7 separate regions of the Homo sapiens genome follow, and all the other regions are linked to region 7. The links are contacts of gene promoters, found by promoter capture Hi-C in blood cells and fetal thymus (Javierre and others, 2016). All regions are on one chromosome and are shown on one strand. The core of a region is centred on a gene start or on the middle of the fragment in contact, and the rest is flanking DNA. Distances in the headings are between cores, read along the strand shown.

Evidence for each region. The method cuts DNA at HindIII sites, captures the fragments that hold promoters and counts their contacts. A CHiCAGO score of 5 or more calls a contact.
Region 1: a fragment that was not itself captured here is called in contact with the fragment with the promoter of PRR16 in region 7 in 1 of 17 cell types (neutrophils); the score reaches 5.5 in neutrophils.
Region 2: a fragment that was not itself captured here is called in contact with the fragment with the promoter of PRR16 in region 7 in 3 of 17 cell types (megakaryocytes, endothelial precursors and monocytes); the score reaches 8.2 in megakaryocytes.
Region 3: a contact is called between a fragment that was not itself captured here and the fragment with the promoter of PRR16 in region 7, in 1 of 17 cell types (neutrophils). The highest score is 5.2, in neutrophils.
Region 4: a contact is called between a fragment that was not itself captured here and the fragment with the promoter of PRR16 in region 7, in 1 of 17 cell types (neutrophils). The highest score is 6.3, in neutrophils.
Region 5: a contact is called between a fragment that was not itself captured here and the fragment with the promoter of PRR16 in region 7, in 1 of 17 cell types (M2 macrophages). The highest score is 5.1, in M2 macrophages.
Region 6: a fragment that was not itself captured here is called in contact with the fragment with the promoter of PRR16 in region 7 in 1 of 17 cell types (neutrophils); the score reaches 5.6 in neutrophils.

What each region holds. Positions count from the first base shown.
Region 1 is chr5:119,828,066-119,831,864 of GRCh38, reverse strand. No RefSeq gene overlaps it. Among named protein-coding and RNA genes, the nearest start is that of FAM170A, 200 kb to the right of the region's middle. The HindIII fragment of the contact is 2,936 bases long and covers 1-2,842 here.
Region 2 is chr5:119,473,087-119,477,042 of GRCh38, reverse strand. It overlaps HSD17B4 (hydroxysteroid 17-beta dehydrogenase 4), which reads right to left. Exons shown (of 24, transcript NM_000414.4): 3 at 3,028-3,135; 4 at 2,583-2,642; 5 at 1,316-1,337; 6 at 1,173-1,219. Among named protein-coding and RNA genes, the nearest start is that of HSD17B4, 23 kb to the right of the region's middle. The HindIII fragment of the contact is 2,108 bases long and covers 726-2,833 here.
Region 3 is chr5:119,870,403-119,874,080 of GRCh38, reverse strand. All of the region lies in intron 1 of LOC105379144 (a long non-coding RNA gene), which reads right to left. Among named protein-coding and RNA genes, the nearest start is that of FAM170A, 240 kb to the right of the region's middle. The HindIII fragment of the contact is 7,465 bases long and covers 1-3,678 here.
Region 4 is chr5:119,920,141-119,923,679 of GRCh38, reverse strand. All of the region lies in intron 1 of LOC105379144 (a long non-coding RNA gene), which reads right to left. Among named protein-coding and RNA genes, the nearest start is that of FAM170A, 290 kb to the right of the region's middle. The HindIII fragment of the contact is 3,607 bases long and covers 1-3,160 here.
Region 5 is chr5:119,751,868-119,755,624 of GRCh38, reverse strand. No RefSeq gene overlaps it. Among named protein-coding and RNA genes, the nearest start is that of FAM170A, 120 kb to the right of the region's middle. The HindIII fragment of the contact is 7,171 bases long and covers 1-3,757 here.
Region 6 is chr5:119,733,931-119,737,967 of GRCh38, reverse strand. No RefSeq gene overlaps it. Among named protein-coding and RNA genes, the nearest start is that of FAM170A, 110 kb to the right of the region's middle. The HindIII fragment of the contact is 2,153 bases long and covers 654-2,806 here.
Region 7 is chr5:120,462,024-120,465,693 of GRCh38, reverse strand. PRR16 (proline rich 16) reads right to left here and starts at 1,394. Exons shown (of 2, transcript NM_001300783.2): 1 at 1,049-1,394. The coding sequence starts at 1,207. RefSeq lists an enhancer at 519-1,020 and a silencer at 1,426-1,475. The HindIII fragment of the contact is 2,017 bases long and covers 558-2,574 here.

The DNA.
Region 1 (3,799 bases), core at 125-2,624, 630 kb after region 7:
ATCAATCCCAAAAGTCATCATTTGAATTTTATCTAGGAGTAAAGTCAGTAGAGAGAAGTCTAGAAGGATTTTAGCCCATTTTCCTTCTTGGAGATTGAATATATATTATTTTCTACTTGTGGAAATATGAGGAGTAGTAAATAAGATTCCCACACATGTACACATATTCCTCTGGTTTCCATTCTCTTCACATATTTGGTTTAACAGCTAAGCAAATGGCTAATGATGGGTTCAGTTCATCCCCAGGGACAGAGATGAGCTTCAGAACAACCCTGTTTATGAAGGCTTCTCTGCAAATACCAACCAATGCTCCACTGTGTCCAAAGAATCATACGTTAAGTAAACTTATTCCAAAGTTCTACTTCTACCCTCATACGAAGTTCTATTTTTACTCCCTATTCTGTTTCTCATTCTAATTTGTGCCCAGCCTCACTCTCCATCATAATTCACCAGAGGTTACACGATGAAGTCAAATAGAGGCATAATTATTCTCCAATAATAGCATCAACAACATAAAAATTACCAAATGGGAATATAAATATACTCCCTTATGAAGCTCTCAGGAAGAAATTAAAGCCTCTATGTTAAGACACCTGGCTTTAAATTCAGAAATATATATATATATATATATATATATATATATATATATATATATATATATAGTACAAGACATCAGAAATTAAATTCTTTTCCCCATGGGCTCCTCTACTAAGAAAGTCCAAAGAGTTAACACAACACAGAAAATTATTAGAATCCTAGTTTTAAAACAACTTAATTGCAGCTCCAAAGTGAATATCTCCAATTTTTTTAGAAAAGGATCTCCAGAAACTAGGAACCAATATGTACTGCCCCCAAAGACCATAAAAGGCTCAATGTTATCTAATGAAAGGAGAGTCAATTCAGAGAAACAATTTCTGCTACTCTAGACTCCCAGTTGGTCAGTGTCACTTGTTCAGGGTCCAAAATCAGTGAATTGTGAAGTCAGCCATAAGATTAATTATGCTTAACAAATATCAAGGGGAAAGGAGTTCATTTTTGCATTCTCTCTCTTCAATCAGAGAGTGGGAAAAACTCCTGACAAAGTTTTGAAATTTGCAGTAGTCATGGCCCCAAGTCAGCGGGTCTTATTGAAGTTTCTTTCTTTCCTATGCAGCATACTTAAAACTTGTTAATTTCATTTTCCCTTTGAGCCTAATTTTCTGCCCCCATTCCAGGATAGCAGTTGAGGGTGAGATCTGTCCAGGATGCAGGCCTGTTTCACAGGGACTATTGCTGCTTGCTCTGGAATGTCTTAGAGCATGAGACTTGCCTGCTAGGGAAGATTCCCCTCTCCCCAGTCTTGGTCTCTGCTGGAGAATCACCCTCTGCAGGCCCTTCTTTTCCTCAGCTTTCTAATGTTCTAGGCTTTGAGCAACATCTCTTTTTGCTTAATAGTTTTCTGCAACAGGAAAGGTCTCTAATGCTTTATTTCTGTCTGCTATTCTCTTATTCAAAGTAGGTTCACAATAGTTTACCTTGCTTCTTAAATGGATTACTTTCCTTCTCTACCTTAGGAATAACTATCCGTAAGACCTGAGTAGCTGCTTCTCTTTCTCTTTCTCGTTGTTTTTAAGCTCAGTTGTCTGTTTTCAATGACATAATTTTCTCCAGGTTTTGTCTGGTAGGGTACCCTATCTTGAGATCATTATAGTGAGTGAGTTCTGGTGCTGCCCAAAACATCCACTGTTTAAAAAAATATTTTCAACCTTCACCTCCTGGGTTGAATCATCTCAATCACTGTCTCGTCAGAGACAGGCTGAATTAGATGTATTATTTTCTTTCTTTTTCAATATATAGTAGCTCCTATCACTTCCCTTAAAGCCCTTATTTTATATTTCTTCTCCTTGAGAGAGAGACAATATCTTCCCACCCACTTACAACAGGTGTATCACCTTGCATCAGTACTTCTTTTAATGTAGGTTGCTATTTCAATCATTCTCTTTCACATCTGTCCAGATATTCTATAGCCGTGTGGTTAGTTCTCATTAAAGACTCCTTATCTACAACTTTAAGAGGAACATTTTCAAGAGTCTGTTAAGCCCACAATTTCATAGGTGACTCTAAAAAAACAAATTCTACCAAAATATGAAACATCTGTCTATAACTGTGTCTATAATAATGGTGTCTATAGACAAGTATATTTATAGACTAAGTAAAGTTTCTAAAAATCTTTCTCTTTTACAATGAAATTGAAAAGTGGATTAGCCTCAAGTAGAGTCAGTTATATCAATGGCTTTTATTTTTCTTCTAGATCCACATAATAGAAAGAGAAAACAGAACAAAACAAAGCCTGACATTGTCAGTCTGTCCCTAAAACTTCTCATTATTAGGTTTAGAATAAAGGTTACTCAAAAGTTCTTTTTAAAAAAAAAAAAAAAACTTGTTAGATCTGGGATTGCTCAACATAACAATTACACTACACTCTCTTTGACCCTGCTACTATGCTATAACCATGTTTTTCTATGCTCCATTTACCCTCCCTAATTTTAGAAGAACTAAAACAATCCCCTCTTTTACAGTCCCACTTTAAAAAGTAGATAAACTGGGGCTTATTTTCTTTAATTTGTCATATCTAGCTAGTCAAACCTCTAAGATTTTAACATTTCTCCTAAGAAAAAGTCTTTCTTACTCCATTGGAATTTGTCTGTTACTTTATTTTTCTTTCATTCTTCCCAAAATTCTTATTCTAATAATAAAACCAAAGCATATTTTTAAATCAAGACATTCCTCTTAAATTCCAAATAAAACTATTCCAGAAACAGAGTGTAGGAGGCACAATCTATTTTAATTGCCATTTTAAGCTTTGGATTCACAATAATTTTGTTGACGTTTTGCACTATCCACTATGTACTAAGAGCATCTATTCTTTTTTATTTGTTCTTCCAACTTCTATGGGTAAAACCAGAATCTGAGTCTCTGAAATAAAAAAACCACTGTCAGAGTTAACATAATTATTATTTTCAGAACCCATGTGAGTCCATGAAGTTGGATGGAAGAGTGCACAATTCATGAGATTCTAAGCAGTTAGCTCCCCCGCAGTTCCCTCCCTTGTTGCTGAATGTAGTTGAGAATAACATAAATAGGAATGGAATTTGGGGCAACCGATGAAGCACTGCATTTGTATGCCAGGCATAAAATTCATACTAGTTTTTTGTAGCCCACATGGACTTAGCTGTCTTTACAAACCATCTATAAACCTGGCTTAAAAAAATACAATAAAAGCAGCACAATTATCCCACTCACGAATGCTTATTAAGCATGTATGCTTAAGCTCTATTTTGATGTGAGCCTTAACAAGAAGTAAAAGTTCTCTTTTTCTTGGACAGGAATCAGCAATAGAACTGAGATGCCTAGAGCATTAGCCTTCTATTCGGCTAGCTTAGCAATAAACACTTAGGAAGATTTTGATACTTTCAAAAGGTCAAGACTCTAAACAAAAATTTTAAAACAACTAAAATTAAGCAATATATTGTTTAGGCACTGAGCACAAGTCCCAGAAAGTGGTTACATCAGGACAGAAAGAAGAAAGAAAAACGGAATGGAGAAAACAAATAGGCAGATGGAAGTTTTTGTTAATGTTTTCGGGTCTAGTTTTCTGATCACGTGGTGGTTTTATGGAGGTTAATTCATTAAAAATAAGTAAATAATGAAACAAATAAAAGAGGACCATGATATATCAATAATAAAAGTGGACAATGCATCATATATTCTGAGCAATTCAATTCTGTGTACCTAGAGTACAGTAAAAGATATATATATA
Region 2 (3,956 bases), core at 530-3,029, 990 kb after region 7:
CATAGCTCATTAAGAAATATTTACAAAATACTCACTAGATCCCTATTGTTACCATTTGCAAATGAGTTAGTGAGAGGCCTGTTTTCACAAATTTCAATCTAACGAACAGACCACTTATGAAACATTCAGACAGACAATTCTAGATTTTAATTGTCAAGTTTTTTAAGCATTCTTACTTATTTTTGGTAAAACAAATGTTTTCATGTGTATATTAGAAGAAGAATGTAAGAGTGAAAAAAGGAACTAAAAAAAAGAAAGAGAGGGAGAAGGGTAGTCAGGAGTAGTGGCTTAGTAGGATGGAATCAGAGAAGGAAATACCTCAGTCCCGTTGCAGCACCAAGAAAAGCACCAACATAGGCCCCCTTTGCCAGCAAATCCTATCTTTCTCAGCTTCTTTTTTACCCCAGTTGTTACAAGGGAAGCAGAAACTAAAAGCTCTTCTTAGCTTAATTCTAAATCAAAGACACTAACTCTTCTTCCAAAAGACAGTCAGGCACTATTCCCCCAAAACACACTCTATAAACAATGATACAATTGTTTCACCTCAGTTGCCATGCTTCCCTCTGTCTCAGCCACCACTGTTCATTTTAGTTCTGATGGCCAATGAAAGTAAGCACAAAGAGGAGCAAAAGAAAAAAAAAATTCTTAACTGTGATTTGTTCATTATCTAAACTCAATCTTTCCAATTCAGAAAGAATGGAAAACTTTCCTATTTACTAGAAGCTTCAAAATTATATCCAGGTTTTGTCCTAACCTGTTCTAAAATCTCCATCATTTTTAGTGCACTAGACTCCCTTAAATATCCTGCTCCTGTTCTTGAAAAAGATTCACACAGCTGGATAAGCACGTTAAAGGCTGTTAAGAGTTAATACCTCTAGAAAATGCTGACAACCTCTTAAGGAGAAAAAAAGGGGAGAGGGAAACCTGAAGAAATAAAATCCTTTTAGATATCTTCTAAACAAATGATTTAACATTTTTTAAAAGTATTAAATGTTTTCTAAAAGAGGCTACTTCTAACTATTCATTGTCTTCAGTATACAGTTTACTCATCATTTATATTAGCAGCAAAAGTAGATAGAAGCAGGTTTTTCCTTAAATGTATAAATTTATCAAATACTAAAAAGGCTAAATGGATAAGTATGTTCCCCAGAGAAATACTAAAAACAACTTACCCCAGTCTTCATCACTTATCCTAGCAAAGGAACGATCCCTCAGAATTCTAAAAAATCAATGTTGTATAGGGTAAAAGGAGGAAAGTATATACTTTTTAAAAAAATTATACACACATCACTAAAAATGAAAAAGAAATACTCACCCAGCATTGTTGACCACAACATCTACAATATAAAAAGATACAAGTTACATCTAAAAGCAAGCATATTAGTTTGCATTTGCTTACAACTCACATTTCTCTCAAAACTGGCGTTTTTTAACCATGAAAAAGTAAATATAATAGGTAAAGAGTGCTTTCAAAACAAAAGTCTATACCTATATCAAAAAAAGTTGACTCACAAAAGCCTAAGTATCACATTATATCAAGCACCTTCCTCTCAAACTAACATCTATAAATTTTCCCACCTCTCTATCAAAATTCTATCCACTTAATTATAGAATTAGCCATTTTACAACTCTTAGGTTCTAAGGAATCAGAACCATAAGCCATTCTACACTTAACCTCAAAATTCACTTAGCAAGTTAAAGTTACATTTTTCCCTTGCCACTCAAAAGTAAAAAGTCCAAAAAGAAAACCATTAGAGTTACAAACTGATGCCTTATCTTGATACATAATTATTTTCTCACTATGAAAGAAAATAATTATTTTTTAAGGTTCAACCCTCTTGTGGCTATTTTCACCCTATGATTTCACATTTTTGTGGTTTCTATCCCTGTCAGACGATATGTGAACATGGTTCTTATGAGTTCAATCAAACAAAATTAGAAAAATAAGTGTAATAGACCAAACAAAAAAGGGAGAGCACATTCAATTAAGAATAAGTAATGTTTTTCAGATTGTAAACATGTTGGGCTTATGTTCCGTGATGTCTCCATCTAGTAGTTAAATAATCTTTTATTAAGAGTGTGTGGGACTAAACTGGGAAGATTAGCTACAGAAATAACAAACTCAACAATTTATTTGAAATACTTCTTAAAAATTAAGATTTTTATTATAGAGAAATCATCTTAAGTAATTTGCAAGATATTGGATTATTTTAATCCAAATTATTATAATTATCCAAAAGAATCCACTGGGTACTCTATTGCCAAAATATTGGTTTATTTTTTAATCTTATAAACATCTTTGAGGTTTAACTGAATTATTTTAAAAAGGGCACTGAGTAAACGCTCGTAAGTTTTTTAAAGCACTTAAGGTGCAAAAAAACAAACTCAACACTATATCCATAAAATTGCCACCTCAATTAAACCCTTTATGAAATAAGTACAATAATTAACTTATAAATCAAATTTTAAAATGTGATTATGAGGAAAGAGGTATCTGTTTAGTAAATGAAAGTCAACTTAAAAATATTTCATTAGGAAGGTAGAAGTTGCTCCACAAGAGCCATAACACAAAGAAACATCACCTATTCTTCCAAAAGCATCCAGGGCTGTCTTCACAACCTTCTCTCCTTCTTCCACTGAATCTGAGGGAAAGGAAAATTTGTATGAAATTTCGGCAACCTCCCTTCCAAAGGACTTCTAAATTCTGTGGGTCAGAGTACACGACAAATACTATTCACCCAACAGAACTCAGAAGAACATATCCATATCTACAATAATTTACTAATTATATCATGTGCTCACTAATAAAAATAGTAAACAATAGAACAAAGCTTAGAATCATGAAATAGTCTACATCAAAAGTTTTAACAATTCTCACATATATAAAATATGTAGTCAGAAAACTTTGGCAGACTTAGAAAATCATAATTATACTGGAATACTGAGATATTTGCTCAAAGATTATTAATGTGACAAATAGCATTAGTTGAAGGAAAATAAATAGTATAGTTCTCTCAAATACCATACCATAGTTGGCCACTGCTTTTCCACCTCTCCTTCTTATTTCTTCAACAACCTTATCAGCAGCTAAGGAGCCTTTACCAACTCCTTTGAAGTCCCCTCCCAAATCATTCACTGTAATGCAAAAACAAGCAAACAACAATTAATTATTCTAGACTTTCAAAATGTGTGTGTGTGTGTGTGGAAAATGAAATTCTAATTACTAGCACATCTCTTCAGTCATCTGCCCAGTTCCTTCCTACCCTATCCCATCTTACTAAACACAACACAGCCATTTTCAAAACATTCCTCTTCATTTTTGAATACAGACATAAAGAAACAGCAAAACTATTTAAATACAGGTTGTTCTCATGAAATTTTTAACTGTGCAGTGTTTTTCCTCTTTCAAAAAGTAAAGAAGACTGGGCATGGTGGCTTATACCCGTAATTCCACCACTTTGAGAGGCTAAGGTGGGAGGACTACCTGAGCTCAGGAGTCTAAGACCACCAGCCTGGGCAACATAGCAAGATTTCATCTCTACTAAAAACCAAAATAATTAGCTGGGCATTATGGCATGTATCTGTAGTCCCAGCTACTTGGGAGGCTGAGGTGGGAGGATTGCTTGAACCTGGGAAATCAAGGCTGCAGTGAGCTATGATCATGCCACTGCACTCCAGCCTGGGCAACAGAGCAAGACCCTTTCCAGGAAAAAAAAAAAAAAAAAAAAGGAGCAGGGAAGAAAAGTAAAAAAAAAAAAAAAAAAAAAAAGATTCATCCACTTTTCAGCAAAAGAAAAGAAAAAATGTGAAAATCGCTTTAAGATTAAATACACAGGAAAACAAAACTACTATAAGATCGATCAATCCTACTTCCACATCTTTATCCAAAAGAACTGAAATCAGAAGAAAAACTGACTTGAAATTCTCTTCAAATAACAAAGGATATTAGCACTCCA
Region 3 (3,678 bases), core at 132-2,631, 590 kb after region 7:
ATCCAAGTGGGCGTCTGAAGGTCCAAGAGAAAAAATGGGCAGAGAAAAAGCACCTTTAACCTTGATCCTAGCACTTTGTATCTCCCTTCTTTCCCATGATTCTTCCCTGAGGATGGGCTTTCTGCATAGCGCAGTGCCCTCCTTACCTTTGGAAATTGAGCACGCACAGCACAGTGTGTTCAGGGAGTTTTATATGCATGCCTCTCTGAGGCTTTCTTCACTTTTCCGGTGGAGTGTGACCGGGAAGATCATACTTCACCATTTTTGTCTCTTAACAGGCATGCCCAGGAAGTTGCTTCTCCCTAAGGTCTGCTTTCAATTAGCATTTTTAATGTTAACAAGTGTAGACCATCAGGAGATTATCTTTCCTTGGCTGCCGAATTACTCTTGTTAGAGAGGCAATGTGATAATTGCCAAACCAGCACCTGACATTTCTAGTGGGTGTGGGGAAAGCCCTCCCCTGACCTGCTCATTGCCTTTCCAACTACCTGTAATGGTAAGTGCTCTATGTAGGTGTACCATTTTTTATCTTTTATTTCATATTCCCACTGTACCTTTTCTATGTTTAGATATGTTGAGATACACAAATACTTACCATTGTGTTACAGTTGCCTATAGTATTCAATATAGTAACATGCTATACAGGTTTGTAGCCTAGAAGCAAGAGGTTATACCATATAGCCTGGGTGTATAGTAGGCTATAGTATCTAGATTTTTGAAAGTATATTCTATGATGTTCACACAATGACAAAATTACCTAACAATACCTTTCCCAGAACAGATCTCTTTCATTAAGCAATACATGACTATACTAGTCAGGTATCTTTCTATACTGATAAAAAAAGAATTAGTAGGAAAACAAAAGCTAAATGAGTAATTAATTGATAAAGAAAAGGCTAAAGAAAGAATAGGAAGGGAATAAAAAAATTTTAAAGTAAAGTGTACAGTCTTCTTTTGCATTTAGAGGTAAGAGATAAGAGTAAATATAAATGAATAAATTTTATTTACAGAAATAAATGTTCTGCAACATAAGGAAATATGCATATAAAGAAAGGAAGTTAAGGAACTCAACAACCCATTTTCTATTTTAAAGAGAGGCATAGATAGACAGGCACATTGGCACATGCCTGGAATCCCAGCAATTCAAGAGGCTGAGGTGAGAGGATCACTTGAGCACAGGAGTTTGAGACCAACCCTTGGCAACAGTGCAAGACCCCATCTCTTGGAAAAATAATGTAAAAAGGCAAAGTTGCCTACTGAGATAGAATGAATTTGGATATTTACAACTAAGGCTGTGAATTGACAGCAGCACTAACTTTTATATTTGGGTGATTTCTTCAAGCCAATTTGTGACTCAGTGAATAATGTACAGGGTAGGTAGTTGGAAAAGACTTTGGAACTTAATGTTACAGCTCTTGTCATTTTAGTGGTTAAAGTCATTATGGAGGTCAGGTGGGTACAGAATATATAAAGCCATGAAGAATTGATGGCTCTGGAGAACAAGCAGTTCAACATTGGAGAGCTTCATGACGTTTCGTGATAGAACTGAAGAGATAGAAGTTGGCAGTGAGTGTTTGGTGTATCAGAATAGAAGACTTTAGACGTGATAGAACTATGAATGTTATAACTGAATTATGTCCGCTCAAAAGTTCACATGTTGAAGTTATGACTCTCAGTACATAAGAATATAACTGTATTTGGAGATATGGTCTTTAAAAAAGGTAACTTAAAATAAAGACATCAGGGTGGGCCCCAATCCAATATAACTGTCTTCCTATTAAGAGGAGATTGGGATGTAGATATGCACAGAGAAGGATCAAGGAAAAACACAGGGAGAAAAATGGCCATTTACAAGAACTAGGTTTTACTGTCTTAGTATTTCCGGTGTCCTCATAGTACCTACATATAGAAAGCGTTTTGCAAATTTAGTTAAGTTAAACTAAACAAACGACTCCTTTGAATATAAAAGACAGCATGCTTTATTTTCATATATAACCACAGAAATAATACATACTAAAATTGCTTATACAGTGGTCTTGCCGCCAACCACAGTATGAAAATATTAAACAGAAAATTCCAGAAATAATTCATAAGTTTTAAATTGCATACTGTTCTGAGTAGCATGATAAAACTTCACTCTGTCCCGCTTCATGCATCCTTTTGTCCAGCGGATCCATGCTGTAGATGCTCTTTGCCCTTTAGTAGCCATTGTGGTTATCAGATCGACACGATGTTGCAAAGCTGCCATTCAAGTAACCCTTATTTCACTCAAAAATGGCCCCAAAGTGTAAGAATAATGATGCTGGCATTTTGGCTATGCCAAAGAGAAGCCATAAGGTGTTTCCTTTAAGTGAAAACTGAAAGTTCTCAACTTAATAAGGAAAGAAAAGAAAAATCGTATGCCAAGGTTGCTAAGATGTACAATAAGAACAAACCTTCTATCCATGAAATTGTGAAAAGGAAAAATAAAATCTGTGCTAGTTTTGCTGTTGCACTTCAAACTGCAAAATGCCCACAGTGCATAAGTGCTTATTTACGATGAAAAAGTCATTAAATTTGTGAGCGGAAAACATGAACAGAATCCTGTTCTGACTGAGGGCAATTGGGTTCGGTATTATCTTCAATTTCAGACATCCACTGGGAGTCTTGGAACATCTCCCCTAAAGATAATAGGACACTGCTGTATTTATAAAGTTTATTATCTGAATTCCTCTTAGCAGCAAAGGTAGGCAACAGAGTTTGCAAACATACAATTTGCTATTATAAATTACAACAGAAGAATTGTTTAAAAGATGAGTTAGTATCATAACCATAAAAGCTATATGTATATTTATAATTTATTTTAACGGTAGAGGGAGGAAAAAATACAGAATGATAAAGTGGCATTTTCACTGTTGGCATGTCTCTAGGAACCTTTAATAATATGCCAAAGTAACAAGAAGTTAGATGCTATTAAACACACACAGCATAATATCACCGTAGAATTGTTCATTAGCTAGAGTGCTCAGAGACCATGTAGCTTTCTGAAGGGTCGTATACAATAACTTTGATCTCAAAATTTATAGTCAAAAAGTCCTTGATCATATTAACACCATGGCTTTTTGTCTGTGTTTCACTGTAATCATGAAGGATTTTCTTAAGATGTACACCTTTCATGTTCAGGTACAAATAGCCTAAGATATGATTAATGGTTGGCACTAAATTGGATTTTTTTCAATACACGGGAAAACAATCATAAGACAGACAAGTAACCACATTAACATTCACAGGAGAGTTGCTTTTTCAAGGAATCAGCGTAAAGAAAATTATTGGAAATCTGGTGCGGTGTCAAGTTTTTACGGGGGAATTAGAAAGTAGCTGTCTCAGCCTAAGTCTCTTGACTTTAAAGTTGTACTGTTTCTATTTCAAATAGTCTGAAAGTTGCAACTATCTAGAGGAACATGGGGTATAGATAAGAAGGGGCACTGGAGACCCTTGCCTCTAGCTCTGAAATACTCATTTAACATCTAATCTGTATTTACAGTAAAGATGCCCAATAAATGTTCTGCTTCCTAATAACTTTGTTGGATCACTGAACTAATCAAAATCAAGAAAACGAAACAATTTTTACGTGATTCTCCTCCTAAACTTAATGTAAACTTAAATACAGGAAGAATAAATGAGGTTATTTTGGAAGTG
Region 4 (3,539 bases), core at 108-2,607, 540 kb after region 7:
GAAAGAACCGATATCAGAACTCTGGCAACTCAAAATGTCTTATTGCCAAAAACTGCACTAGCTCCTTAGCAATGGTTCTTAACTAGACTAAAATGGCTGGAATAACATGCATAGAATTCAGAATCCGGATGGCAAAGAAGATCATAGACATTCAGGAGAAAGTTGAAACCCACTTCAAGAAATCTAACAAATTAACTAAAGTGATACAAGAGCTGAAAGATGAAATAGACATATTAAGAAAGAGCCAAACTGATCTGATCAAGCTGAAAAACTCACTACAAGAATTTCATAACACAATTGGAAGTATTAACAGTGTAATAAACCAAATGGAGAAAAGAACCTCAGAGCTTGAAGACTGGATATCTGAACTAAGTCAGAGAAAAATCAAGAAAAAAGAATGAACAAAACTTCCAAAAAATATGGGATTATGTAGAGATCAAATCTACAACTCATTGGAATCCATACATGAGAGGGAGAGAGAGAGCAAGTAACTTTGAAAACAAATTTGAGAATATTGTCCATGAAACATTCCACAACTTCACTAGAGAGGTTGACAGTCAAATTAAGGAAATTCAGAGATACCCTGTGAGACACTATCCAAGAAAACGAAATCCAAGACACACAGTCATAAGATTCTCCAAAGTCAATGCTAAAGAAAAAATATTAAGGACAACTAGCGAGAAGGGGCAGGTTACCTACAAAGAGAACCACATCAGGCTAACAGTGAACATTTCAGCAGAAAGCCTAGAAGCCAGAAGAGATTGGGGCTTATATTTAGCATCTTTAAAGAAAAGAACTTCCAACCAAGAATTATCCAGCCAAACTTAGCTTCATAAGTAAAGCAGAAATAAAATCATTTTCAGACAAGCAAATGCTAAGGGAATTTGTTACCACCAGACCTGCCTTACAAGGGGTCCTTAAGGGAGTGCTAAACATGGAAATGAAAGAACATTAGCAGCACCACAAAAACACGCTTACGTACATAAACTATTGACACTTTAAAGCAACTACACCATGAAGTCTACATAACAACCAGCTAATAATACAATGACAGAGGATCATTCCACACATATCAATATTAAACTTGCATGTAAATGGACTAAACACCCCACTTAAAAGGTATAGAGTGGCAAGTTGGATAAAGAAGCAAGACCCAACTCCATGCTATCTTCAAAAGACCCATCTCATATGCAATAACACCCATAGCTTCAAAGTAAAGAGATGGAGAAAAACCTATCAAAAGGAAAACAAAAAAGAACAGGGATTCCTATTTTTATTTCAGACAAAAGAGACTTTTAAGCAACAATAATCAAAAAGGATAAAGAAGGACATTACATAACAATAAAGGGTTCAATTCAACAAGACTTAACTATCCTAAATATATATGCATCCAACACTGAAGCACATAAAACAAATTCTTACATAATCACACAGTAATAGTGGGAGACTTTAACACCCCACTGACAGTATTAGATCATTGAGACAGAAAACTAACAAAGGTATTCAGGAATTAAATTTGACACTTGACCAAATGAACCTAACAAACATCTACCAAAAACCCCACCCAAAAACAACAGAATATACCTTCTTCTCGTGTGCACATGGCACATACTTTAAAATCGACCACACCCTCAGCCATAAAGCAATTCTCAACAAATTTTAAAAAAATGAAATCATACCAACCATACTCTCAGACCAAAGCACAGTAAAAATAGAAATGAATACTAAGAAGATCTCTCAAAACCATACAATTACATGCAAATTAAACAACCTGCTCCTGAAAGACTTTTGGGTAAAAAATAAAATTAAGACAGAAATCAAGGAATTCTTTGAAACTAATGAGAACAAAGATGCAGCATTCCAGAATCTCTGAGACACAGCTGAAGCAGTGTTAAGAGGAAAGTTACAGCAGTAAATGCCCACATCAAAAAGTTAGGAAGATCTCAAATTAACAACCTAACATCACACCTATAGGTACAAGAAAAACAAAAGCAAACCAACCCCAAAGCTAACAGAAGAAAAGAAATAACCAAAATCAGAACTGAGCTCACAAGATGAAGAAAAGAAACACTGTACAAAATATCAATGAAGAACTAAGATTGAAAGACCACTAAATAAACTAGCAAATAAAAATGAGAGAAGATTCAAATCAACACAATCAGAAATGACAAAGGGGACCTTACCACCAGTCCCATTGAAATACAAAAAACCCTCAAAGAATATTATGAACATCTCTACACACATGAACTAAAAAACCTGGAAGAAATGGATAATTTCCTGAAAACTACAACCTCCCAAGATTGAACCAGGAAGAAATTGAATTCCTGAACAGACCAATAATGAGTTCTGAAATTTGATCAGTAATAAAAAAAAAAAACCCTACCAACCAGAAAAAGCCCTGGACCAGATGGAGTCACAGCCACATTATACCATATGTATTAAGAAGAGCTGGTACCAGTCCTAATGAAACTATTCCAAAAGATCAAGGAGGAGGGACCCCTCGATAACTCATTCTAAGAGGTCAGCATCATCTAGATACCAAAATCTGGCAGAGACACAATGAAAAAAAAAAACGCTTCAGGCCAATATTCCTGATGAACACAGATGTGAAAATGCTCAAAATATTAGTAAACCAAATCCGCCAGCACATCAAAAAGCTAATCTTCCGTGATCAAGTAGGCTTTATCTCTGGGATGCAATATTGGTTCAGTATAAGCAAATCAATGAATGTGATTCATCACATAAACAAAACTAAAAGCATGATCATTATAACAGACACAGAAAAGCCTTTTGATAAAATTCAACATCCCTTCATTTTAAAAACCCTCAACAAACTAGCATCAAAGGAACATACCTCAAAATAAAAAGAACCATCTATGACAAACCCACAGCCAACATCATACTGAATAACCAAAAGCTGAAACATTCCTCTTGAGAACCAGAACCAGACAAGGATGACCACTCTTCATTACTCCTGTTCAACTTAGTTTCGGAAGTTCTAGCCAGAGCAATCAGGCAAGAGAAAGAAATAAAAGGCATCCAAATATGAAGAGAGAAAGTCAAACTATCTCTCTTCATGAATGATATTTTTCCCTACATAGCAAACCCCACAGTCTCTGCCCAAAGGCCTCTAGATTTGATAAACAACTTCAGCAAAGCTTTGGGATACAAAATCAATGTTCAGTACACAATTTCATTCGCAACAGCCACAAAAAGAATAAAATACCTAGGAACACAAGCTAAACAGATTTGTAAAAGATGTCTATGGTAAGAATTACAAAACACTGCTAAAAGAAATCAGAGATGCCACAAACAAATAAAAAAATTCCATGCTCATGGATAGGAAAAATCAACATTGTTTAAATGGCCATTCTGTCCAAAGCAATTTACAGACTCAATACTATTCCTATCAAATAACAATTACATTTTTCACAGAATAAGAAAAAATTATTCTAAAATTCATATGGAATCTTAAAGGAGCCCAAATAGCCACAGCAATCATAAGCAAAAAGAACAAAGCTTGAGAAATCACACTACTG
Region 5 (3,757 bases), core at 591-3,090, 710 kb after region 7:
GAGTAGTATTCCATGATATATACATACCACAGTTTCTTTATCCACTCGTTGACTGATGGGCATTTGGGCTGGTTCCACATTTTTGCAATTGCAAATTGTGCTGCTATAAACATGTGTGTGCAAGTATGTTTTTTGTATAATGGCTTATTTTCCTCTGGGTACATACCCAGTAGTGAGATTGCTGAGTCAAATGGTAGTTCTACTTTTAGTTCTTCAAGGAATCTCCATACTGTTTTCCACAGTGTTTGTACTGTAGCAGGACGAGCCGCAGACAAAACCTCTCAGACACTGAATTGTAGAAGGAAGGGCTTTATTCAGCTGGGAGCATCAGCAAGCTACTGCCTTAAAATCCAAGCTCCCCAAATGCACAGTTTCTGTCCCTTTTAAGTGCTCACAACACTAAAGATTTCACATGAAAGGGTCGTGATTGATTTGAGCAAGCATGCGGTACGTGATGGGGCAGCATGCACCGGTGGTCAGAGAGAAACAGAACAGGGCAGGGAGTTTCACAATGTTCTTCTATACAATGTCTGGAATCTATGAATAACATTGGTTTCTAAGTTATGAGTTGATTTTTAACTACTGGGTTTAGGCCAGGCAGGCCCAGACCTGGTTTCGGGCCTGGCGCCCAGCTGCCTGTCTTGGGTTTTACGTCCTTGGTTTTTTTTTTTTTTAAAAAAAACAGGTACTGAGTATGAAACAATATAAAACAATATGAGAGGGTCTCTCTCTTCCCTCAGTACTAGTTCCCACCAGCAGTGTAAAAGTGTTCCTGTTTACCATACCCATGCCAACATCTATATTTTTTTTTATTATGGCCATTCTTGCAGGAGTAAGGTGGTATCACATTGTGGATTTGATATGCATTTCCCTGATCATTAGTGATGTTGAACATTTTTTCATATGTTTGTTGGCCATTGTATATCTTCCTTGGAGAATTGTCTATTCATGTCTATTCATGTCTATTTTTATGGGATTGTTTGTTTTTTTCCTGATAATTTGCTTGAGTTCCTTGTAGATTCTGGATATTAGTCCTTTGCTGGATGTACAGATTGTGAAGATTTTCTCCCACTCGTTGGGTTGTCTGTTTACTCTACTGACTGTTCCTTTCACCATGCAAAAGGTCTTTAGTTTAATTAAGTCCCAAATATGTTTCCCCAACTTTTAGATTTCTCTTCTTCCTCAAGAATGCCAATTATTCTTAGGTTTGGTTGTTTAACATAATCCCGAACTTCTGCGGGGCTTTGTTCACTTTTTAAAGTTCTTTTTTCTTTGTCTTTGTTGGATTGGGTTAAATCAAAAACCTTGTCTTTGAGCTCTGAAGTTCTTTCTTCTGCTTGTTCGATTCTATTGCTGAGACTTTCCAGAACATTTTGCGTTTCTCTAAGTGTGTCCTTTATTTCCTGAAGTTGTGACTGTTTTTCATTTATGCCATCTATTTCACTGAAGATTTCTACCCTCATATCTTCTATCATTTTTTTTTATTTCCTTAAATTGTACTTCTCCTTTCTCTGGTACCTCCTTGATTAGCTTAATAATTGACTTTCTGAATTCTTTTTCAGGTTAAATCAAGGATTTCTTCTTGGTTTGGATCCATTGCTGGTGAGCTAGTGTGATTTTGATGGTGGGGGGTGCTAAAGAGCCTTGTTTTGTTATGTTACCAGAATTGTTTTTCTGGTTCCTTCTTATTGGGGTAAGCTATGTCTGAGGGGAGATCTGGGGCTCAAGCCTGCTGTTTACATTCTTTTGTTCTGCTGTTCACCATGGGGTGCTCCCTTGATGTAGTACTCTCCCCCTTTTCCTAGGATGTGACTCCCTGAGAGCTGAACTGTAGTAATTGTTATTTCTTTTCTGCATCTAGCCACCCAGCAGGGCTACCAGGCTCTGGGCTGGTACTGGGAGTTGTCTGCAGAGTCCTGTGATGTGAATCATCTTCAGGTCTCTCGGCCACGGATACCAGCAACTGTTCCAGTGGAGGTGGAAAAGGAGTGAAATGGACTCTGTGAGTGTCCTTAGTTTTGGTTGTTTAATACACTATTTTTGTGCTGGTTGGCCTCCTGCCAGGAGGTGGTACTTTCAAGAGAGTATCAGCTATGGTAGAATATGGAGAATCAGGAAGTGGGCAGCGCCCTCGAACTCCCAACAGATTATGCTCTTTGTCTTCAGCTACCAGAGTGGGTAGGGAAGAACCATCAAGTGCGGGCAGGGTTAGGCTTGTCTGAGCTCAGACTCTCCTTGGGCAACTCCTGCCCAAGGGGTGGGGCCATGGCTGCTGTGGGGAATGGGAGTGTGGTTTCCAGGTCAATGGAGTTATGTTCCCAGGAGGATTATGGCTACCTCTGCTGTGTCATGCAGGTTGTCAGGGAAGTGGGGGAAAGCCAGCAGTTACAAGCCTCACCCAGCTCCTATACATCCCAAAAGGCTGGTCTCACTCCCACTGTGCTCCCCCTGAGTTTGTTTCCAAGTAGTGGGTATGGCTGAGAACTTGCCCCAGGCTACCAGCTTTCCATCTGAGAAAGCAAGCAGGGCTTTCACGCCTCCCAGCCTGTTGAGTCTGCATTGAATTCACACCCTCCCCCGAATTCTGGCCAGGAGACTTCGCCTTTGGTTGGAATTGTTACCAAGTTTAGCTGGAGGTTTCCTTCTCCCTGTGGTCTCTTCCCAGTTACTCTGGCAGCCCTCCTCAAGGACCCCTGTGAGAGAAGTCAGAAATGGCTTCTCTGGGGACCCAGAGAGACCACAGGGCTTTTCCCGCCGCTTCTTACACCCCTGTAGTTCTCTCAGCTCTCTAAACTGACTCAGATCCAGGTAAGGTCAAATCCATTTTCCATGATCTATACCTCCAGGTTCCCCAGTGAGGGTGTGTTTGGGGGCAGACAATCCTCTTTTCCCACTGTCACAGTTTGGGCACTCACAGTATTTGGGCTGTTTCTTGGGTCCTGCAGAAGCAATCCACTTCCTTCAGAGGGTCTGTGGATTCTCTCAGCTTTCCTAGTATATTCCTGCAGCAGTTCTGTAGCAAAAGTTCACAATATGAGTGTTTACGTGTCTGTCCGAGCTGGAGCTGCAAGCTGGTCCTGCCTCCTATCCACCATCTTGCTAAGATCCCTGATTCTTAAAAGCAGTTTTAAAGTTCTTCATTGTTCATTCTTCTTTGGGCCCATTTATCTTAGTTATTGAAGTCACTAGTAGCACAGGATCATGCAGAAAAAGTGCCTGCTGCTATGGTTGTATCCACATAAACAAACCAGTTAAGTATCTGTTGAATTGCTGGATACATCAGGCCAAAATTCCAAACTAGTTCCAGCTTTAAATTATTTTACTTAATTGCTGTGGTGACTGATCGATCTCTCAAACTTGTTTATCTGTGTAGACATGACCTATATTATGGCTGAGGTAAAAAAACCAGTAACTGAGAAGTTGACAGCAGCATAATTGAATTCATCAACATAAGAGGGGCATAAACTCTACCATCTCTCAATCTAAGAACCAATTCTCACAGCTCTATCAACTGGTAGGCTGGACAAAATGAAGAATTTCTAACAATATTTCATTATTCTGACAAAAAAATTAGATATGTAACAGCCCAAGAAGTCCTCAAAAAAGCATATTTAAATTTATATATTTATTTATATATATATAAATTTATATATTTACATCCCCAGTGGGGATGTTACCGGAGGGTCCTTGCTCCCAGAGCTCCCCAGACGGTGGTGGGCTGCTTCCAAGATGGTGGTGGGCTGCTTCCAAGATGGCA
Region 6 (4,037 bases), core at 481-2,980, 730 kb after region 7:
ATATCCATTGCAACCTTTTAATACATTCACAAATCCATTGTTCCACTGTCTCCAATGAGCAGAATTCCTATAGAAAGAAGGCTTGTTCTAAAACCAACTTCTTAACATTTCTCTTGGTTAAAACAAAAAAAAAAAGCCAAGTATTGGCTGGGCACGGTGGCACACCTGTAATCCCAGCATTTTGGAAGGCCAAGGCGGGTGATCACCTAAGATCAGGAGTTCGAGACCAGCCTGGGTAATATGGCAAAACCCTGTCTCTACTAAAAATACAAAAATTAGCTGGGCATGGTGGTGCATGCCTGTAATCCCAGCTACTCAGGAGGCTGAGGCACAAGAATCGCTTGAACCCAGGAGGCAGAGGTTGCAGTGAGCCAAGATCACATGACTGCACTCCGGCCTAGGCAACAGAGTGAGACTCTGTCTCAAAAAACAAAAAAAAAGCATTAATGCATCATTTCCTTTTTAATTTATGATCAAATCACATGCAAGTGTACATTTTCAAGTTCCATATGATCATTTGGGGTCTTTATAGAGTCCTTGCTCAATAGCACAAGTTTGTAGTAGCTTGTAGTGATGACAGAAACTACCTTTAATTGTGCAGAGGATAATTGTAATTTTCTTTTTCTAGAGGACACGCATTTTCACCTGAAGCTTTCCCTTGAATATCATCACATTCCAACTTCAGCTTTGCAGATTAAATATAAGGGATTTCCTCTACATCAATGCCTCCTGGACTATTGACTATAATCTGCCTTAGCAGGAAGCCAAGTATTTTAGAGAGCTATATTGTGTATCTCTGAGACCAAAAAAGAAGAGCAGCTTCACCTAGGCCTCCTGCAAGTTCCACGAAATGGCTAAACTGATGTGGTTCTGTCTTTCCAAATAAAGGAATTAATTTTCAAAAACTGACAAGAATCTCTGGTATTCCTGCATTTGTCTGAGAAAAAGCTCTCCTGTCATGTGCAGCTACACACCTGCCTCCGGAACCTGGGAGAAGTTATACCTGTCATTGCCAACCATGAAGGCTTGATGAGGGCTTAGGAGCTTTATTTCTACAGAAATAATCCATTCTCTGCCATCTCATCTGAAGTTCGGAGAAACAAGAATTGCTTCTCTATTTTCAAACCTTATGTTTTCTTTTACAAATAAAAATACATCAAATTTATTTATTGAGTACCTACTAAAATTACGGGATCTATGTCCTTAAGGAAATCATGCTGCTGTAGAAATTCTGATGTGTTATACAATGATTTAGAAATGTACTGTGGAATCTTATAAACTGCATTTGATATGTGTGGCTAACCTCCTAAGATAAAACTTTGTCTTTCATAATAAATAACTATTAAAAAAAATCATTGCCTTATGTAGTCATGGCAATACTGTGGAAATGGGTTCCAAGGGATATATATATATATATATATATATATATATATATATATATATATATATATATATATATATCTCTCTCCTTACTTGAAACTGGTTTTTGGTTCCTGTTGAACAAACCCCTGATCTTTACTCTCATCAAATCATAATTATAATTTATAAATTTTAAAAATAAAATTCATTTTAAACTCTTTTTGGGTATAAACTCTCTTTGGGTATAAACAGTTTGATAACTGTACATCTTTTGATGCTATTATCAAGTACTCATAATTTTTTTCCTGATAAAAGAGATCATACCCCACCAGGAAAAAAATGATGCTCTGCAGGGTTCAACTGCATCCAGGGTTGAGTGGGAGAAACAATCAGTTTCTTCCATCTATTTTCATTTAAGAAAGAAAATAAGTGCACTGTGAGGGTGCAAATTATCTGTGTATACATACAACATGGAGAAGTAGCCCTACAGTATCTCAGAGCTGCAAAGAACCTTAAAAGCCACCTAGCCATCTAATTTTACCCACATTCAACCAATGCCCAACTCACATTTACAACCCTCACGTGCCCATTCAGTCTACTCGAAGCACGAAGCACGTCTAGAGAATTGTTTACCTCCTGAGGCAGCCCATTTTATCTTGTCATCCATAATAATAGGCTCTTAATTTGTGGCCCCAAATAGTTGTAGTGCTCTCCAGGTTCTAGTTTCCCTGAGTTGTATTTGATGCTCTTGCTTAAATGGGTCCAAATAGGTGCCTGTAAGATTGAGGACAGAAAGATAGTTTGGTTTATAGCTCCAACTTATTACAATACCCCGAGGTCATGGGTCTTAATTCTAGACAGCTTAGCTAAATAAACTGGGGAAAGACTACAAAGTGTGTTGTTTCCCAGCTCAGCTATTTGCCACTGTGCAATTTTCCCAACTCAGTCACATTCAGTCCTCTTCCCTTCTCCAATGCCAGAATGGGAATTGGGAATAATGGCATTTCTGGGTCACTTAATTAGGAAAGAGCATTCAATGACTTACTCTTCTACTCTAGACTCCCTTCTCTTCCTAAGTATGACAAACTTCACAGATCAGGACTTATTATGTTCCTTCCTCTGTTAAGTTCACAGTTAAAAAATTATCTATTTTTCAGGTGAACACCACCAACATGTATGTGCTCTTAGAGAATAAACAAATGCAAAGGGAATAGGCAGTTTGTGTCCAGACTTTAAGAAACCTGTCAGAGAAACTATGTGAGTCTTTGAGGATCTACTCTCAAGATAGAATTTGAAACTTTCACTGGATCCTGAAAGGCTGAGAAAGCCCCGGGCAATGAAATGCTGATGGATGAGGAAGTAGAAATATGCAAGAAAATGCTATCAGCCATATTGGGGGTCTGTGTGACAAAATGAAAAAAAAGTGTCATCAAGCCTAAGACAAGCTTAAAAAGCCTAAAAGAAGCCAGGTCCAAAAATGAGACTTAATATTTGGCTTCAAGGGAACTCACTTAATTTATTCCCCCAGCTCTGTCCACTGAAAGGGCTGAGAAGTCCAGAAGCAATTACACCCCAGAAGCAATGAATATACCTCATACTTAGATCCTTAAATGAATGTCATTCTCTATTAAAAGGACTCACAGGTGAAATGGCAGATTCCAAGACTGGAGCAGAAAATGCACACAAGATGAACCTGAAGCATTTTCTGCCAGAAAGCAAGGAGCTGCTAAAAATAAAACAAAATAATAATAATAATTTTAAAAATAATAATAATAATAATGAAGACATGGCAAAAGGATACATGAAGCACCATGAAGTGGTTCCCTCTGGCCAAGCCAGAGACAATTTGAGCAACCAAAATCAATAACAACTATAACACATTATAACCCACTGAATAAAATAAGAATACATGAGTCCATACTGATAATAAATAGGATTCTCCAGAGAGACAGAACTAATAGGACGTAGACAGATAGATAAGTAAGAGAGGCTTTTCCAGGGAATTGGTTCACGTGATTACAGAGGCTGAGAAGTACCACAATAGGTCACCTGCAAGCTGAAGAAACAGGGAGGTTGGTAGCATGGTTCAGTCTAAGCACAAAGGCCTGAGAATCAAGGAAACTAATGATGTAACTCTCAGTCTGAAGCCAAAGGATTAAGAGCTCCAGGAGTCCCAAAGTCCAAAGACTGAATAACCTGGAGTTCTGATGTCTAAGGGCAGGAGAAGAAAAGTGTCCTGCTCCAGAAGAAAGAGAGAATTCACCCTTCTTCTGCATTTTTTTCCATCCTAGTCCCCAGCTGATTGGATGGTGCCCATCCACATCGAGGGTGGATCTTCCCCACTCAGTCCACCAATTCACAGGCCAATCTCCAAAAACACCTTCACAGCACACCAAGAAATGGTGTTTTACCAGTTCTCTAGGTATTCTTTAATCTAGTCAAGTTGACAGCTAAAATTAACCATCACAGATAGATAGATCTTTCTACCTGTAGAATGCTGGCTAATAAATCTAGAAAGTACAATTAGAAAATCAGCATGAAATCACATGCAACTATTATGATAAAAATTGACTTAGGCAAAACTATTCAATGGATACTAAATCTGGTGCAATAGAGATAAAGGAAGAATCTGGTGAACTGTAAAGCAAAAAACTATACAGTGGAGAAAACAGCACCTT
Region 7 (3,670 bases), core at 145-2,644:
CCCATTCAGTAGTGAGCGGCGCGCTGGGACTCTGCTACCAGCTCCGCGACGCCGCCGGCAGCCAGCCTGGCTCGGGAGACCCCACCCCTCCCAGCCCGGCCCCCGCCCCCGCCCGGAGCCGCCGCCTGAGTTACGCAGCCTCAGCCCTGACACCTTCTCTGCTTCTTTCCATCTGGATCACCTGGGGCTAGGGGCGGGCGGGAGTAGGGCTGAACCGAAGTGGGATAGGAAAAGCGGGGAAGAACCGAAGCAGTCCCAGCTGCAGAGAGCCAGGACGCCAATGGCAAGACCCCGGCCACACATACACTCTCCTGCGCGTCCTGCTTCTCGGGTTCAATGCCAAGTGGCGACAGGGTGGAAGGAAGGAAGCAGAGGTAGGGTGGCGGGAAGGCCCAGAGTTACTGGTAACGACGTTCGGAGGAGAGCAGGGGATGCTTCAGAAACTGAGAAAGTGAGAAAGTCCCAGACCCCCTCCTTAGCCCCAAGGCTGCCAGCAGCCCGGGTCGCCTTCCCTACAGCGAGGCTCGAGAGACAGGGAGGGTAGTCTGAGCCAAGCTTCCTCCAGGCTGCCCTCCCTGATCTGGCCCAGGGCCCAGAACCCGGCCCCTCTTCAGCCCTGACTTGGGGAGGCTGACAGATAGGCAGCGGACTTGCCAAAGGACTCTGGGGAAGCAATAGGGCAGGAGAGGAGCATCTTGCACGCTCCAGCCGGGCTGCTCACGACTTCCTCTGCCGACACACCCCCAGCTAACCCTCTCCCCCGTCGTCACACACACAGATTCAGAGACACGCGTGCGTTCATCCCTCCCACCAGCCCAGGTCCATCGATTAAAACACTAGTTGATTTCTTCCTGATTAAAAAAAAAAATTAAAAAGTGCAACAACAACTCCTCTCAGGACTCCAGGAGCAAAGAAAGTCCGTCTGCAGGCGCCTTTTCTGTAGTTTCCCAGGAGTTTGGAAATCTGGCTGTCCCTGCTGAAAATCGGAAAGGGGACCCCGGAGGGGTCGAAGGGTGCCGAACTCCCTCCCCACCCCTGCGCCTCTCACCTCCTTAAGTTCCTTGGCCACGTCCTTCAGGTCGCCCAGGACTAATTCCAAATCCTCCACGATGATCTTGATCTGTTCCTTCACCTTGGTTTTGGAGGCTGCCGGCGGTCCCTCGGCTGGACAGGACGAGGAGGGGTTCCCCTTGGACTTGGCTGACATTCTTTGGGGGCAAGCGAGGCAGGTCAGGACAGGCGGGCGAGCGGAGGCTGCTGCGTGCCCCCGTCCCTGGCGCTGCTACGGCCGCTGCCGCCCCGGTCCCCCCACATCTTGGGCGCTCCCTGGGCAGCGGCGAGTGGCTGCGCTCCGCGCTCGGCCGGGCGGCCGCACAGTGGTGCTGCCATCAACTCCCGAGACGCGGCGCTCGGCTCGGGGCTGCAGACGGGCGAGCAGCGCGCCTGCGCCTCCTCCCGCCGCCGCCCGGCGCTCTCGCGCACACGCGCTCGCTCCCCGCCCGCGGAGAGGGGCGCCGTGCTGCCGCGCCAGGGTTGACGCTTGCAGTCCCCTCGACGTTGCCCTTCGAGATATCTCCCAGATGCCACCTTGGCATCAAGGTGGGGGAGACAAGTCCGTGTCCTGCCCGCCCCCTCCTCTTGGTTCTGAAATGTCCCCATCATCTCAGCCTGCTTGCTGTATGTCATCTCACAACTAGCCTGGATTCTTTCTGCTTCACTTGCTAGCAGGGACCTGGATCAATTCAGAAAGAACCACAGTGGGATCAGGAGTTGGAGACAGTCTGTAAAGTGGCCCTACAGATTTATCCAAACCCAAATGATGTCCAGAGGCCTTTAATCAATCTCTTGGTGACCTGCGAGTTAAGCAGACTTCTTAACTTCTGCAAGAAAAAAGGGGGGGGGGGGTGCACATAACAGCTAATGGTCATCTATTGAAACCATGAAATTCAACCAGTGTTCTTGAAAGAGGTACCCTAATCCTGCTAATTCCACAAAGCTAATACCGGATTTATTAATTTGAAGTCCCCACACCCCAAATCCTCTCTGATTGTCTCAGTCATCTTGGCTGTATGTCTTATTTGGCCCAACTCTTTTTTTTTTTTTTAACTGTCCTTCCTCTTTTTGTGACCTATGCTGATTTACATTTTGAGTGGAGTGGGGGAGACATCGTATTTGGACCTCGTGAAGGAGCTGAGTAAGAGATTGCCTCCAACTTCTCTTTCATCATTTTTTAAACCTCCATTTCAACTCTTTTGCTACTAAACAAATAGGAAACAACTTTCTGACTGTTCTGTCAAAAAGACCCAAGAAGGGAAGTTAATAGGAAGCCTTCGGTTCACTCTCAGTAGGTGTCTACAATTCTCATTAGCTAGAATTTTAACTTCCTTAGTTGTAAACCCATGGGCTATTAGCTACTGACCCAGCAGGCTGGCTCTACTTTATTTTCTTCACTGCACACTCCTCCAGATCATTCTTTTAATAGGCTTCCCCTTTTCGTCGTGCCTTAGCAAGGCTCTCTGTTTCTTGCTTCTCACACTCTGGGTAGCTCCACTGTGCTACACATAAAGAAAAGCTTGGCAGCTCTCCTCTTCCCAGTTCTGTAGGCTCTTAATCAATCACTCTCTTAATCCTGGACAATTCATCTTTACAAAACCTTTGGAAGTCATATGTGGAATATAGAGGAAGAAAGAGAACAGAAGAAAAAATTGAAATTTGAAAGTGGTGTCAAAAGAAAACCATTGAAAACTGCATTGAAAAATCAGGGGAAGAAATGAGAAAAGGTGAAAAGCAGATGCTGCTGGAAAGACTTAAGAAGAGATTATAAGAACAAGTCTGCAGCATGCAAACTGGAGAAAAGAAAAAGAGAAGAAATGATTAAAAGTGTGAAATAAGTAATATGCTTGAGTTCTCTGAGGTAGGGAGAATTAGATTTTTAAAACATCCTTTTTCTCCTCAAATTCTTTATTTTATAAAAAATATAACATTAAAATAATTATATCAGGTTTACAGACTCCCCAAAATTGTCAAAACTAGCAAAAGCTAATGGTAGGGGAAAAGAGAAAGTACTATTCTTCTAGATTGGAATTATTTTTGACTCTTAATAGTAGGCAAGTGTGTAAGAAAGCCGCCAAACTCAAAGTTAAGTGACTTTAGACAAGGATATGGGAGAGGAGGAAAGGAAATTGTGATTTCCCTCACAGTGACAAAATAATCCTCCCACAATATAAGAAGATGTCCATGCTACTCTGAATCTCATTCACTAAAGATTAAAAAAAAAAAAACAAAACAGGCTAGGCACAGTGGCTCATGCCTGTAATCCCAGCACTCTGGGAGGCCGAGATGGGTGGATCACAAGGTCAGGAGTTCAAGACCACCCTGGCCAAGATGGCAAAACCCCATCTCTATTAAAAATACAAAAATTAGCTGGGCATGGTGGCAGGAGCCTGTAATCCCAGCTACTCAGGAGGCTGAGGCAGAGAATTGCTTGAACCCGGGAGGTGGAGCTTGCAGTGAGCTGAGATCGTGCCAGTGCACTCCAGTCTGGGTGACAGAGCGAGATTCCGTCACAAAAACAAAACAAAAAAAACTGTTCTCTTCTGATACTCTGATATCCACTGCTGCTACTGAAACAAATAATTCTGACTTAAAATCAAATCATAATTATTGCTTA